Regions from separate parts of the Homo sapiens genome. Here regions 1 and 3 are each linked to region 2. Evidence: promoter capture Hi-C in human tissues and cell types (Jung and others, 2019). All regions are on one chromosome and are shown on one strand. Each heading gives the region's core, a stretch centred on a gene start or on the middle of the fragment in contact. The rest is flanking DNA. Distances are from core to core; before and after follow the strand shown.

The links. Contacts are between HindIII fragments. The study calls those that stand out against the background at their distance.
Region 1: the fragment with the promoter of TOMM22 here is called in contact with the fragment with the promoter of MAFF in region 2 in 1 of the 25 tissues and cell types used here (lymphoblastoid cells).
Region 3: a contact is called between a fragment that was not itself captured here and the fragment with the promoter of MAFF in region 2, in 3 of the 25 tissues and cell types used here (dorsolateral prefrontal cortex, hippocampus and lymphoblastoid cells).

The regions. Positions count from the first base shown.
Region 1 is chr22:38,680,197-38,684,478 of GRCh38, forward strand. It overlaps TOMM22 (translocase of outer mitochondrial membrane 22), which reads left to right and starts at 1,761. Exons shown (of 4, transcript NM_020243.5): 1 at 1,761-1,899; 2 at 2,127-2,245; 3 at 2,683-2,800; 4 at 3,571-4,282. The coding sequence starts at 1,783. The coding sequence ends at 3,645. It overlaps TOMM22-DT (TOMM22 divergent transcript), which reads right to left and starts at 1,660. Exons shown (of 2, transcript XR_007068097.1): 1 at 1,530-1,660. RefSeq lists enhancers at 1,549-2,748, 1,795-1,864 and silencers at 1,595-1,664, 2,055-2,104. The HindIII fragment of the contact is 12,362 bases long and covers 1-4,282 here.
Region 2 is chr22:38,200,638-38,204,465 of GRCh38, forward strand. MAFF (MAF bZIP transcription factor F) reads left to right here and starts at 1,357. Exons shown (of 3, transcript NM_012323.4): 1 at 1,357-1,575. RefSeq lists silencers at 1,184-1,513, 1,574-2,013, 2,864-2,943. The HindIII fragment of the contact is 8,533 bases long and covers 1-2,749 here.
Region 3 is chr22:38,557,085-38,561,126 of GRCh38, forward strand. The region is part of intron 5 of DMC1 (DNA meiotic recombinase 1); the gene reads right to left. Among named protein-coding and RNA genes, the nearest start is that of DMC1, 11 kb to the right of the region's middle. The HindIII fragment of the contact is 5,518 bases long and covers 1-4,042 here.

The DNA.
Region 1 (4,282 bases), core at 511-3,010, 480 kb after region 2:
GGAGAATCGCTTGAGCCCAGGAGGTTGCAGTGAGCTGAGATCATGCCACTGCACTCCAGCCTGGGCGACAGAGCAAGACTCCATCTCAAAAACAAACACACAAACTCAAACAAAAATTTATATCTGCATACTTTCTGACCAGCTCACCTACTTACTAGAAATCTATGTACTATGCCTCAGTTTCCTCATTTCTAAAATGGGGATAACAGTGCCTACCCCAGTGAGCTGCTGTGAAGATTAAAGGAGGACACACCGCACCCACCCACACCCACAGGCACCAGAGCACCTGGTATTTAGGTGTTAACTCTTACCTTTGTTTGGTACATAGGGAAGATTTACCTGATGTTTTCCCAAAAGACCTGCAAGACACTAATTTATTCCTACCAAGTAAAACATGGCTCAGGAAAACGAAACTGGATCAGTGTCTCTCTAAAACAGCCCAAGAAGCAGGCCAAGGAGATGGACAAGGAAGATAAATCTTTGGCCCTGGTCACAGGCCGAATTAAGAAATCCGGCAAGGTGGGGCGCAGTGGCATAGGCCTGTAATCCTAGGACTTGGGGAGGCTGAGGCAGTCGGATTGCTTGAGTCTCGGAGTTCAAGACCAGCCTAGGCAACACAGTGAAACCCTGTCTTTATATATATATGTATGTGTGTGTGTGTGTGTGTGTGTATATGTGTGTATGTATATATACATAATACGTATATATGTATACGTATGTATATATATACATATATACACATACCTATATACACATATATACATATATACACATATATACATATATATACATATATACGTATATATATACACACACATAAAATATATATTATATATAATATATAACTATATATAGGCCAGGTGCGGTGGCTGATGCCTGTAATGCCAGCACTTTGGGAGGCCGAGGCGGGCAGATCACTTGAGGTCAGGAGTTCAAAACCAGCCTAGCCAAATGGTGAAACCCCGTCTCTACTAAAAATACAAAAAATTAGCGGGGCGTGGTTGGTGGTGCATGCTGAGGCAGGAGAATCGCTTGAACCTGGGAGGCGGAGCTTGCAGTGAGCCGGGATCACACCACTGCACTCCATCCAGTCTGGGCGACAGAGCGAGACTCCGTCTCAAAACAAAACCAACAACAACAACAACAACAAAAAGCTAAAATCTTACAAAAAGCGACCTGTTCCACTGTCCCTTGGGCCTGCGGTGATGGTGGGCCTGACTCCATTCGTCTTTAAACATCTCTATTCCCGGCCACATCTTTGGCCACCTATGCTCGAATAAAGTGTTGTCTTGGAGCCTGTTGTAAATTTAAGAATAAACTTTTGTTAAAAAAAAAAATACAGTGGCTCATCATCTCTTGAGTTGTTTTCACTCAGCCACTCCTACCTTAGCTGTGAACTTAAAGTAAAACAAGCCCCCAGAATCTTGCCAGAGTCAGCCCTTTGATCTTTGTTCTCCCCTGAACTCTATTACCTGGAATTAAAACAACGCATTTGAAAAAAAGAAAAACAAGCAAGTTTCTGAGCTCACCCTATACCCGCTGAACAGAATGACTGCGGTGGCGCCCCAGAACCTCTCACAGGCCTCTCAGCTGCTGCTAATGCCCGCCGAAGCCCCGACGCCCGGATAAGGCCAGGGCTGCCGGACCCGCTGCGGGCACTGGAGGACCCGGGGCTAGAGGGCGCCGCTCTCGCCCGGCTCGCGCCTCGGCTCCCGGAAAAGCAGCTCTGTCCGCCGTTCGGCTGCGCTCACCTCCTTTCCGCTTCCGGTGTCCCCTACAGTCATGGCTGCCGCCGTCGCTGCTGCCGGTGCAGGGGAACCCCAGTCCCCGGACGAATTGCTCCCGAAAGGCGACGCGGAGAAGCCTGAGGAGGAGCTGGAGGAGGACGACGATGAGGAGGTACTAGGGCCTCGCGGGGTGCAGAGCGGGAAGCGGGCCCGCTCGTGGGTGTGGGATCCGCGTGGTACGGGATCGGAGCGAAGCGGCTGCTTTGGGAGGCGGGGTTAGGGGCCCTGCTGGGCCCTGGGTGCCCTAGCTCCAGTGGGGCTCGGCGGCTCCCAGTGCCGCAGCGGGGCCAGGAATGGATGTCGCTTTTTCGGCTAAGACCCGCGTCTACTCCACCACAGCTAGATGAGACCCTGTCGGAGAGACTATGGGGCCTGACGGAGATGTTTCCGGAGAGGGTCCGGTCCGCGGCCGGAGCCACTTTTGATCTTTCCCTCTTTGTGGCTCAGAAAATGTACAGGTAAGGAACGAGGGCAAAGGCACTGGGTACGTGCATGGGATGGTCGTGGTGCTGTGAAAGAACACGGGGTTTGGAAGCAGCAGACCCGTGTTGGGTGACCTTGGGCTTGTACCCTATCCTTTCTTAGTTTCCTCTTCTGTAAAATGGGGATTCTTACCTGGCAGGGGAGTTGTGGGGGTTATTTCAGATTGTTGGAGATAATTAATGAATAAGGAGCTTTGTAAGAACTCAGGAGAATGTTAAACCGCCATCACTAGATGATACAGCTACCATAGCTGCTCCTCCTGTCTCTGGTAGGAGTATGGTGTAAGGAGCGGGTAGAATACGTTTATCAAAAACATTGGAGTATGTAATGTGAGAGGTTTGGTTACTGGGTAGTTCTTGCCTGTTTTGTTTGCATGTCTTCATGCTCACCCTCTGGGGATTTTCCTCTGCAGGTTTTCCAGGGCAGCCTTGTGGATTGGGACCACTTCCTTTATGATCCTGGTTCTTCCCGTTGTCTTTGAGACGGAGAAGTTGCAAATGGAGCAACAGCAGCAACTGCAGCAGCGGCAGGTGAGCCCAGACCTTGGGCTTTTTGCCAGTGGTGGAGACGCAAGTTATTTCACTAACACATTGGTCCCCAACCTTTTTGGCACCAGGGACTGGTTTCATGGAACACAGTTTTTACATGGATGGTGGGTTGGGGGTGGCCGGGGGTCGGGGGGGGGGTTCTGGATGATTCAAGTGCATTACATTTATTGTGCACTGAATTTCTATTATTACATTGTAATATATAATGAAATAATTCTATAACGTAGAATGAGTGGGAGCCCTGAGCTTGTTTTCCTGCAACTAGACAGTCCTGTCTGGGGGTGATGGGAGACAGTGACAGATCATCAGGCATTAGATTTTCATAAGGAGCTTGCAACCTAGATCCCTCGCATGCACTGTTCACAAGGGTTTGTGTTCCTATGAGAATCTAACACTGCTGCTGATCTGACAGGAGGTGGAGCTCAGGCAGTAATGTGAGCGATGGTGAACAGCAGTAAACACAGATGAAGCTTCTCTCACTTGCCTGCTGCTGATCTACTGCTGTGTGGCTCAGCTCCTAACAGGCCATGGGCCAGTGCCAGTCCACAGCCCAGGGGTTGAGGGCTCCTGTTGTAGCACCTGAGTTGACCAACAGTTAATGTGTGGGTGGGGATTGGGATCGGGCCCATGCTCTTTTAGTTGTCTGACTGTGCTTTCAGTATTATTTTTGTAGACGTTGGCCCCATCAGGTATGGTGAGAATAAGCTCTCTAGGCCTGTATGATGCCTTACACCCCTCCTTTTCTTTTCCAGATACTTCTAGGACCTAACACAGGGCTCTCAGGAGGAATGCCAGGGGCTCTACCCTCACTTCCTGGAAAGATCTAGATTGTTATTGCTGTTTGAGCTGTCTCAGTGGGATAAGTTTGAAATTCAAGTGTTTGAACTGCTGATAATTTGGATTTTTTTTTTTTTTTAACTTTGGCACATTGATCTATCTAAACCTGGTGGGGAGAATTATCCCCACATTGTCTCATGGAAAGACTCAACTTGCAACTGTGCCCTCCACACTATCCTTACTTCTGTCTCCACTCTGATACCAGAGTGCAGCCATGCAGATGGTTATTCCAGCTCTGGTCACCCGACTCCTTTCACCAAATTGCTCCTAACTGGAAGATCTCACTTTCCCCTTGTGGGGTAGGAACCGATGCCAGTGGGAGGGATGTGCCCCTGACCATTAACGACTGTTTTTTTTTTTTTTTTTTAAAGAATGGAGTTGTTGGGGCAGGACATGCACACAATGTGAAACAGACAAAATGCATTACACCTGTAGTGTAAAGTGGCCACTATGAATCCCTATGTATGAGAGGAGGGAGGCAGGCTGCAGCTTCAGCCACAGAATGGGGACTATGGAAGACAGCAGGAGCTCATTTCCTCTGCACATTTTGGCTGTTAGACCTGTGTGTGTGTTTAAAAAAAGAGAAGTCAGTGCTCACTTTTTGTATTTAAATATTAAAAATGATTC
Region 2 (3,828 bases), core at 107-2,606:
TACAGAAGTATTAAGATAATATAAGAACAAATTTCAAGGCTGGGTGCGGTGGCTTGCGCCTGTAATCCCATTACTTTGGGAGGCCAGCGTGGGTGGATTGCCTGAGTCCAGGAGTTTGAGACCAGTTTGGGCAACATGGCAAAACCCTGTCTCTACAAAAAAAAAAAAAAAAAAAAAAAAAAAAAAATACAAAAAATGAACCTAGCATGGTGGTGTGTGCTTATGGTCCCAGCTACTTGGGAGGCTAAGGTGGGAGAATGGCTGGAGTCCAGGAGAAGGAGGTTGCAGTGAGCCGAGATTGTGCCACTGCACTCCAGCCTGGGTGACAGAGTGAGACCCTGTCTCGAAAAAAAAAAAAAAATTCAGAGGTGAAGACTGCTTTAACCAGGGTGGTCAGGAAATGTCTCTCTGAGGCAGTGACATCCGGGCTGACGTGAAAGATGAGAAAGAGTCAGGCAAGTGAACAGAAGACCAGACAGCCAGTGCCAAGGGCCTGTCGCAGGAATGAGCTTGGTATGTTTGGGGGACAGAAAGAAGGGCACTGTGGCCGAAGAGCAGTGGATGAGGAGAGAGTGGCCAAAGAAGGTGTGTAAACAACCTGAGCTTTGTTTTGAGAAGAACATTGGCTGGTATAGAAAGAAAGACTTTGGAGGCAAAGTAGGGAGCCTCGGAGGCTGCTGCCATTGTCCGGGTAAGCTGATGGTGCCGAGACCAGGTGCCATGACTGGAGGTGGTGAGAAATGGTCCTATGCAGGAGACCTGGAGACACCGCTAGCTTGAGTCCTGAGGTGGGGAGGAAGGGAGAGGGAGGGATGGAGCCAGGCTCCAAGGTTTTGGCTTGAGCAGCTGAGATGGGGTGGCAAGGGAGCAGAGGTAGGGCTGACGATCAGGAGCGGGTTTTTGGGCCGAGTCCTCTGCAGTGCCCATCTGACACCCACTGGATGCGCAGAGTGGGCAGCTGGCTATGAGTCTGGAACTCAGAGAAGCTGTTCGCTCCGGAAATACAAACCTGGGGCTCATAGCCATATAAATGTCATTTAAAGCCACGGGACTGGATGAGATCATTAAGGCAGAAGGTCTAGGTCGAAAGAAGAGGGCCAGGACCACTACCTGTAAAATGAGCCAATGACACCTACACCCACGGGGCTCTCGCGAGGTGTCACGTGAACGCACCCAGCGAGCCCTGGAACCAGGCAGAGAATCGCGGCAGCCCCGGGGGCGGGGCTTCCAGGGGGCGGGGTCATACGGGGGCGGGGCCGAGGGACCAAGCGGCCGCTCCTGGCCGGAGGGCGGCCGGGTCGGTGACGTCACCGCATGACTGGGTTTTTATGAATGAAAGGAATCCTGTGAGTGAGTAATTCCGGGAAGCTCGCCTTACAACTCCGCGCGGCCTCGGCCCCCTGCGCCGCCCGCCCCACAACAAAACTCAGCGCAGCGCTCCCGGGCGCCCGGTTCAGAGCGACCTGCGGCTCAGAGCGGAGGGGAGACTGACCGGAGCGCGGATCGGGACAGCGGCCGGGACAGCGGCGAGACGCGCGTGTGTGAGCGCGCCGGACCAAGCGGGCCCAGAAGCGGGTGAGGAACGCGGGACCAGGAGGACGGTGCGCGGGACCCCAAGGCGGCAGGGTTTCTGCGTCCCGGGATGCGCCTGGGGTGGGCGCCCGGGCCCGATCCGTCGGGGCTCCCGGAGCTCCATCGCCCGGACGGCTCGGGGCGGGGAGAAGGGAGCGGCCGTCCCGGGGACGCCGAGGACGGGGCCGAGGCCAGCTCGGGGGAGTGGGGGTGGAGACGGGGCCCCTTCCCGGGGCGCGGGCGGGTAGGCGGCGGCGCCGGGAGGAAGGGGCAGCGCAGGCCGGCGATCTCCGCGTCCGCCCGGCGGGGGCGGGGGCGCTGTGCTCCTACGTGACTCGGTGGGAACAGGCCCTGGCCCGGCGCCCGCGGGCGGTGCGTGCGCGGTTTGTTTACGTCCGAGGGCGGGCGTGTGTTCCCTGGCGGGCGGCCTGGGTATCCTGCCCGGTGCGTGCGTGCGCTGTGTACCTCGGGGGCGTGTGTGCGTGTGTTGTGCTTGTGTGTGCGTGTCCGCGCGCGCGCTCCCTGGGGCCTGTACACCAGCAGTGTGTACCTCGGAGAGGGCGTGCCCTGGGCCGGCCACCGGAGTAAACGCGGAACAAGGACCCGAGCGAAGGAAGCGGACCCGTGCGTCTTCGCACGGGGTCTGGGAATTCTGGCCCGGGCCGCCCCAGTCCTACTACCCGGGGCTGTCCGTCCCCGGCTCTCCCCGGAGTTTCCCAGGGCCTCCGCCACGTGACCCCAGTGTTTGTCTCCCGCCCAGAGCCCGCGCCCGCAGCCACAGGGTGGGGCAAGGTATCAAAGACCCCACCCAGCTGAGCTAGGAGTGAGGGATGTGAGCCACCCCCGCTTGGCACCCCGGTGGATCTGGTAACAAAGTGAGTTGGAGCCCAGGTTCTTGTCCCCAGATTTTGGGGCTTCCTGGGGAGGGAAGAACCAAGGGACTCTCGTTCGTCCCCAGGGTTGCCCATCCCCTCAGTCCCATGAGAACAGGAAGGGCCAGAAAACCTTGACTGCAAGGGTGCGGCGCAGGGAGAGGACCACAGGCTTTTAGCTAGTCCGGGTTCTGGAGGCTGTACCTGCTAGGTCGTGGAGGATGGGGCGGAGCCGGTTTCCGCTCTCCTGGTAGTTTCAGTTCACAAGTGGGACTGGTGAGACTAGACTGACCTACAGCTGGACGCCGGAAGCTAGCTGAGGCTCTGAGCCAGCCGACAGACCCCGAGTGCCCTCACCCTGGGCCAGGCAGGGTCAGTAGGCATTGGGGATAGAACTCTGACTGCACGGAGGGTTAATGAGTGAGGGGTGGGGCCTGACCTAGCCGCCACCCACCCACTCACCCAATAGCCCTGCAGAAAGCACCTGTTTGTCGTAGCCGCCTGCAGGATGGGCTGGGGGCTAGAGATTCCTTGGTCTTAATCCACCTTCCCCCTCCACCCACCCACCCACGGTCTATGGAATTGTGGGAGGGGAGCAATTGAACTTGCTAGGGTGAGGAACCAATGATCTTTTGACTTTGGATCTTTGAACCCTGGGTGAGCTCTGCTACAGCAGCCCGGACCCTCAGTATTCCCATCTACCACTGGGAACTAGGTAACAGCCAGGATGGCAGGATGGTGGGTAGAAGGGGGAAGCTCTGGAAGTCTGTGCAGACAGCGTATTTTCCAGGTGAATTGTGGAAGAGAAAGCAGGGCTGACAGCCCCATGCCAGGAGCTGGGGGTACCCAAGAGTAGGTGGGGTTTGAGTCAGGAGGGTTGGGGCCAGGAGCACAGGAACCAGACAGGCCCACCCTCAAAGCTGGGCAGGAAACATTACAAAGTAGGGCCTGGGGTCAGGGGATGAGGGGAAGTGGCTGGTTGACTCAGTCCCAGATGGAAAGTTAGCACTGAGAAGTTTAACTTCCCATTGAATCACCCCTGGGCCCTGCATTGCCATTGGGCCCTTGTCCTGGACCAGATGCCAGGGATGAGATGAACAGACCAGATCCAGAGACTGCCCTCTGGGAGCTTATAGCTCAGCAGCGGACACAAACTTGAAAAAAGATCCACAGAAGTAAATGCAAAACACAGCTTAGATGGGTGATGTGAGGGAGAAGTCACTGTGGTTTGAAAGTACATAACAGCGCTCTGACTTAGCCAGGGCAATCAAGGAAGGCTTCCCTGGGGAGGTGACTAGTGTGCTGAGTCTGATAGAGTGGTGGTTGTCTGTGAAGCCCTTGAAGGCAGGAGCTGTGATTCACTTCAGGGTCTCCAGGGCCCAGC
Region 3 (4,042 bases), core at 675-3,174, 360 kb after region 2:
ATAGGTAAACGTGTGCCATGGTGGTTGGGCTAGCAACTATTAAAGAAAGCTTTATTTGTCCCTCTTCTTCCTGAGAAAAATTACCCTGGAAAGCTATACCTCTGGAAAATCCCAGACAAAATTCCTGGTTGATATGTAATCTCAATCAGCTGAAAAGGTAACCCCAAAATTTACCTGTGAGGATACCCCAAATTATTTGGGATAGCACAATTGTTTCCTTTTTGAGACTCAGGAAAATTTAGAATTAAGTGTAGAAATAGTGTTTTTAAATATAGGGAGATTTAAAAATAGAGACACAAATCAAACCCATAGATTACTATTTTCATATTAAATTTGGCAATATGGGCATGGTGGCTCATGTCTGTAATCTTAGCACTTTGGGAGGCCGAGGGAGGTGGATCGCTCGAGCCTGGGAGTTCAAGACCAGCCTGGATAACATGGCGAAACCCAGTCTCTACAGAAAATACCAAAATTAGCCAGGTATGCTGGCCTGTGCCTGCAGTCCCATCTACTCAGGCTGCAGTGAGCCGTGATGGAGCCACTGCATTTTAGCCTGGGTGACAGAGTGAGACCGTGTCTCAAAAAATAAAATAGAATATAAATAAATAAATTTGGTAATAACCTGTGCATATTTGCTATTTGAGACCTTTTAACGTTTAAGATAATTTGACCTTTTTGTAATGGATTGGCCTCTGACTGATTAAATGGTACATTCCTTCAATTTTCAAGTTGATAACTAATTTTATAAATAGTATTTGAACATTTAATGGTGCCTACAACTCACTATACTTCTAAATTTATTTGAGTTACAAAAGATATTTAGGTAATTGGGAAGATTTTGCTGTTAATAATTAGATAATTAGACAAAGTTCTTTTTTTTTTTTTTTTTTTTTTTTGAGACGGAGTCTCACTCTGTCGCCCAGGCTGGAATGCAGTGGCGTGATCTTGGCTCACTGCAACCTCTGCCTCCTGGATTCAAGCAATTCTCTGCATCAGCCTCCTGAGTAGCTGGGATTACAGGCACCCGCCACCATGCCCGGCTAATTTTTGTATTTTTAGTAGAGACAGGGTGATCCTGTCTTTAGTAGAGACCTTGTGATCCACCCGCCTCAGCCTCCCAAAGTGTTGGGATTACAGGTGTGAGCCAGTGCACCTGGCCAACAAATAAAGTTCTTAAAGAAAATACAATACACTAAATGTATAAACATAATTAAAATGTTTAAGAGAATTTAATCTTGTTATAAAAGCACCCTTAAAATGTGCTAGATTTATAAAGGGACTTAAAGCTTAAGGAAAAATGTATAATATTTTAATTAATTAAATATTAATTTTTAAAAACCTAGCTCCTGGCTGGGCGCAGTGGCTCACATCTGTAATCCCAGTACTTTGGGAGGCCGAGGCAAGTGGATCATCTGAGGTCAGGAGTTCGAGGCCAGCCTGGCCAACATGGTGAAACTCTGTCTCTACTAAAAATACAAAAATTAGCCCGGTGTGGTGGCACACACCTGTAGTCCCAGCTACTCAGGAGGCTGAGGCAGGAGAATTGCTTGAACCCAGGAGGCGGAGGTTGCAGTGAGCCGAGATCATGCCACTGCACTCCAGCCTGGGCGACACAGCAAGACTCTGTCTCAAAAGCAAACAAACAACAAAAAAAAACCTAGCTCCTGAATGATCTTTTCTGTTCTCAAGAGCAAACATCAAGGGCACCAGAAAACTCACAATAACAGTAATTATTTCTTTAGCCCAGTGGTTCTTAGACCACCATGTGGTAGAGTAACTAAAGAAAATCAGATTGTCATTTGAATCAAGTGTTTTGTTGATCAACCTCATTTTGACCAATTTGCCTAGGGGTAGGATTTCTCCAAGCCTCTTCCTTAACTTTACTTGAAAAAAGGGTATGTGATTTTAAAAGTCTGGGACAATGCTGGGTTAAACAGGTATTTTCTTTTTCTTTTTTTCTTTTGAGACTGAGTCTCACTCTATTGCCCAGGCTGGAGTGCAGTGGCACGATCTCGGCTCACCACAACCTCCATCTCCCAGGTTCAAGCGATTCTCCTGCCTCAGCCTCCCGAGTAGCTGTGACCACAGGCACATGCCACCATGCCCGGCTAATTTTTTGTATTTTTAGTAGAGACGGGGTTTCTCCATGTTGGTTAGGCTGGTCTCGAACTCCTGATCTCAAGTGATCCACCCGCCTCGGCCTCCCAAAACGCTGGGATTAAAGGTGTGAGCCACCGTGCCCAGCCATTTTTTTGGTAATTTTTAGTAGAGACAGGGTTTCACCATGTTGGCCAGGCTGGTCTAGAACTCCTGACCTAAGGTGATCCACCCATCTTGGCCTCCCGAAGTGCTGTGATTACAGGTGTGGGCCACCGTGCCCTGCCAAAACAGGTGTTTTGTGTCACTGCAGGATTTCACAGGCTAGTGTGCGCTGTGACTCTTCAAGAAGAATATATAGTATATGGTACTTCTCAAACTTATTCACTATTTGTTTATTCATTCATTTAGTCATTCAACAAATATTTATTGCACACCTAGTTTATGCCAGGGATTGTTTTGTGCACTTGGGATAAACTAGAGAACAAAAGAGACAGAATTTTTTTCTCTCACGAAGTTTACAATCTAGTGAGAGATTAGATAATAAACACAAATAGGCCAGGCGCCGGTAGCTCACACCTGTAATCCCAGCACTTTGGGAGGCTGAAGCGGTGGATCATGGGATCAGGAGTTCAAGACCAGCCTGGCCAAGATGCTGAAACCCTGTCTCTACTAAAAGTACAAAAATTAGCCGGGCGTGGTGGCGGGCACCTGTAATCCCAGCTACTCGGGAGGCTGAGGCAGGTGAATCGCTTGAACCTGGGCAGCAGAGGTTGCAGTGAGCTGAGATCATGCCACTGCACTCCAGCCTGGGTGACAGAGCAAGACTCCGTCTGAAAAAAAAAATAAATAAATAAAATAAAAAATAAACACAAATAAGTAAAATATGTAGTACATCAGATGTTATTAAATGGTATGGATAAAAATAAGGCCAGGAAAGGGGACAAGGAAGACAGAGTATGAAAGTTAGGAGGTTATACTGTCAAATAAAGTGATCAGAGAAGTTCTCATTGAGACATGGACATTTTTGCCAAGACCTGAAAGAGATGACAGCAAGCCATGTAGATCTAAGAGGAAAGAATATGATAGGCAGAGGCAGCACAAAGTGCAAAGGCCCTGATGCAGGAGTGTATCTGACATATTCTGGGAATAGCAAAGAGGTCACTATGGCTGGTACATAGAAAACTAGAAAAGTGAAATATTAGAGATGGGAGAGGACTTTGGCTTCTTTTCTGAGTGAGAGGGGGAATCATCAGGGTGTTATGAGCCACTGCATTCCAGCCTAACCTATGTTTTAAAGTGACCATTCTGGCTCTTTAGTGAATTAAAAAAAAAAACAAAACAGTAGGGGCAAGGTCTCAAGGAGGGAGGTTAATTAGAGGTTATTATAATAATCCAGGGGAGATATTAATAGGTGGTAGTTTAGTCCAGTGAGGTAACAGTAGAGGTGGTAAGAAATAGTTGAATTATATTCTCACTCTCTATGTACACACACACATATACACATAAAAATAACATATATTATATATTAATCTTTTATTATAGAAAATATCAAGCATAAACAAATGTAGAAAAAAAATAATGAACCATCGTGTCTATCACTCAGCTTCAACAATCGTCAACTATGAACTCAGGGTAAATCTTTTTTCATATAGACCACTAACCATTTACCTCCCTTCCCATATTATTTTAAGCATATACTAAGCAACATATCATTTCATTATAAATATTTCAGTATGTATCCCTAAAAGATGAAGATGAAGACTCTCATCTTTAACAACCATATTCCCACTATCACACTTAAATTTAGTAATTCCTTAATTTTTTTTTTTCAGACAAGGTTTCTCTCTGCGTCACCCAGGCTAGAGTGCAGTGGCATGATCGCGGCTCACTAGAGCCTCAACCTCAACCTCCTGGGCTCTAGCAATCCTTCTATCTCACTCAG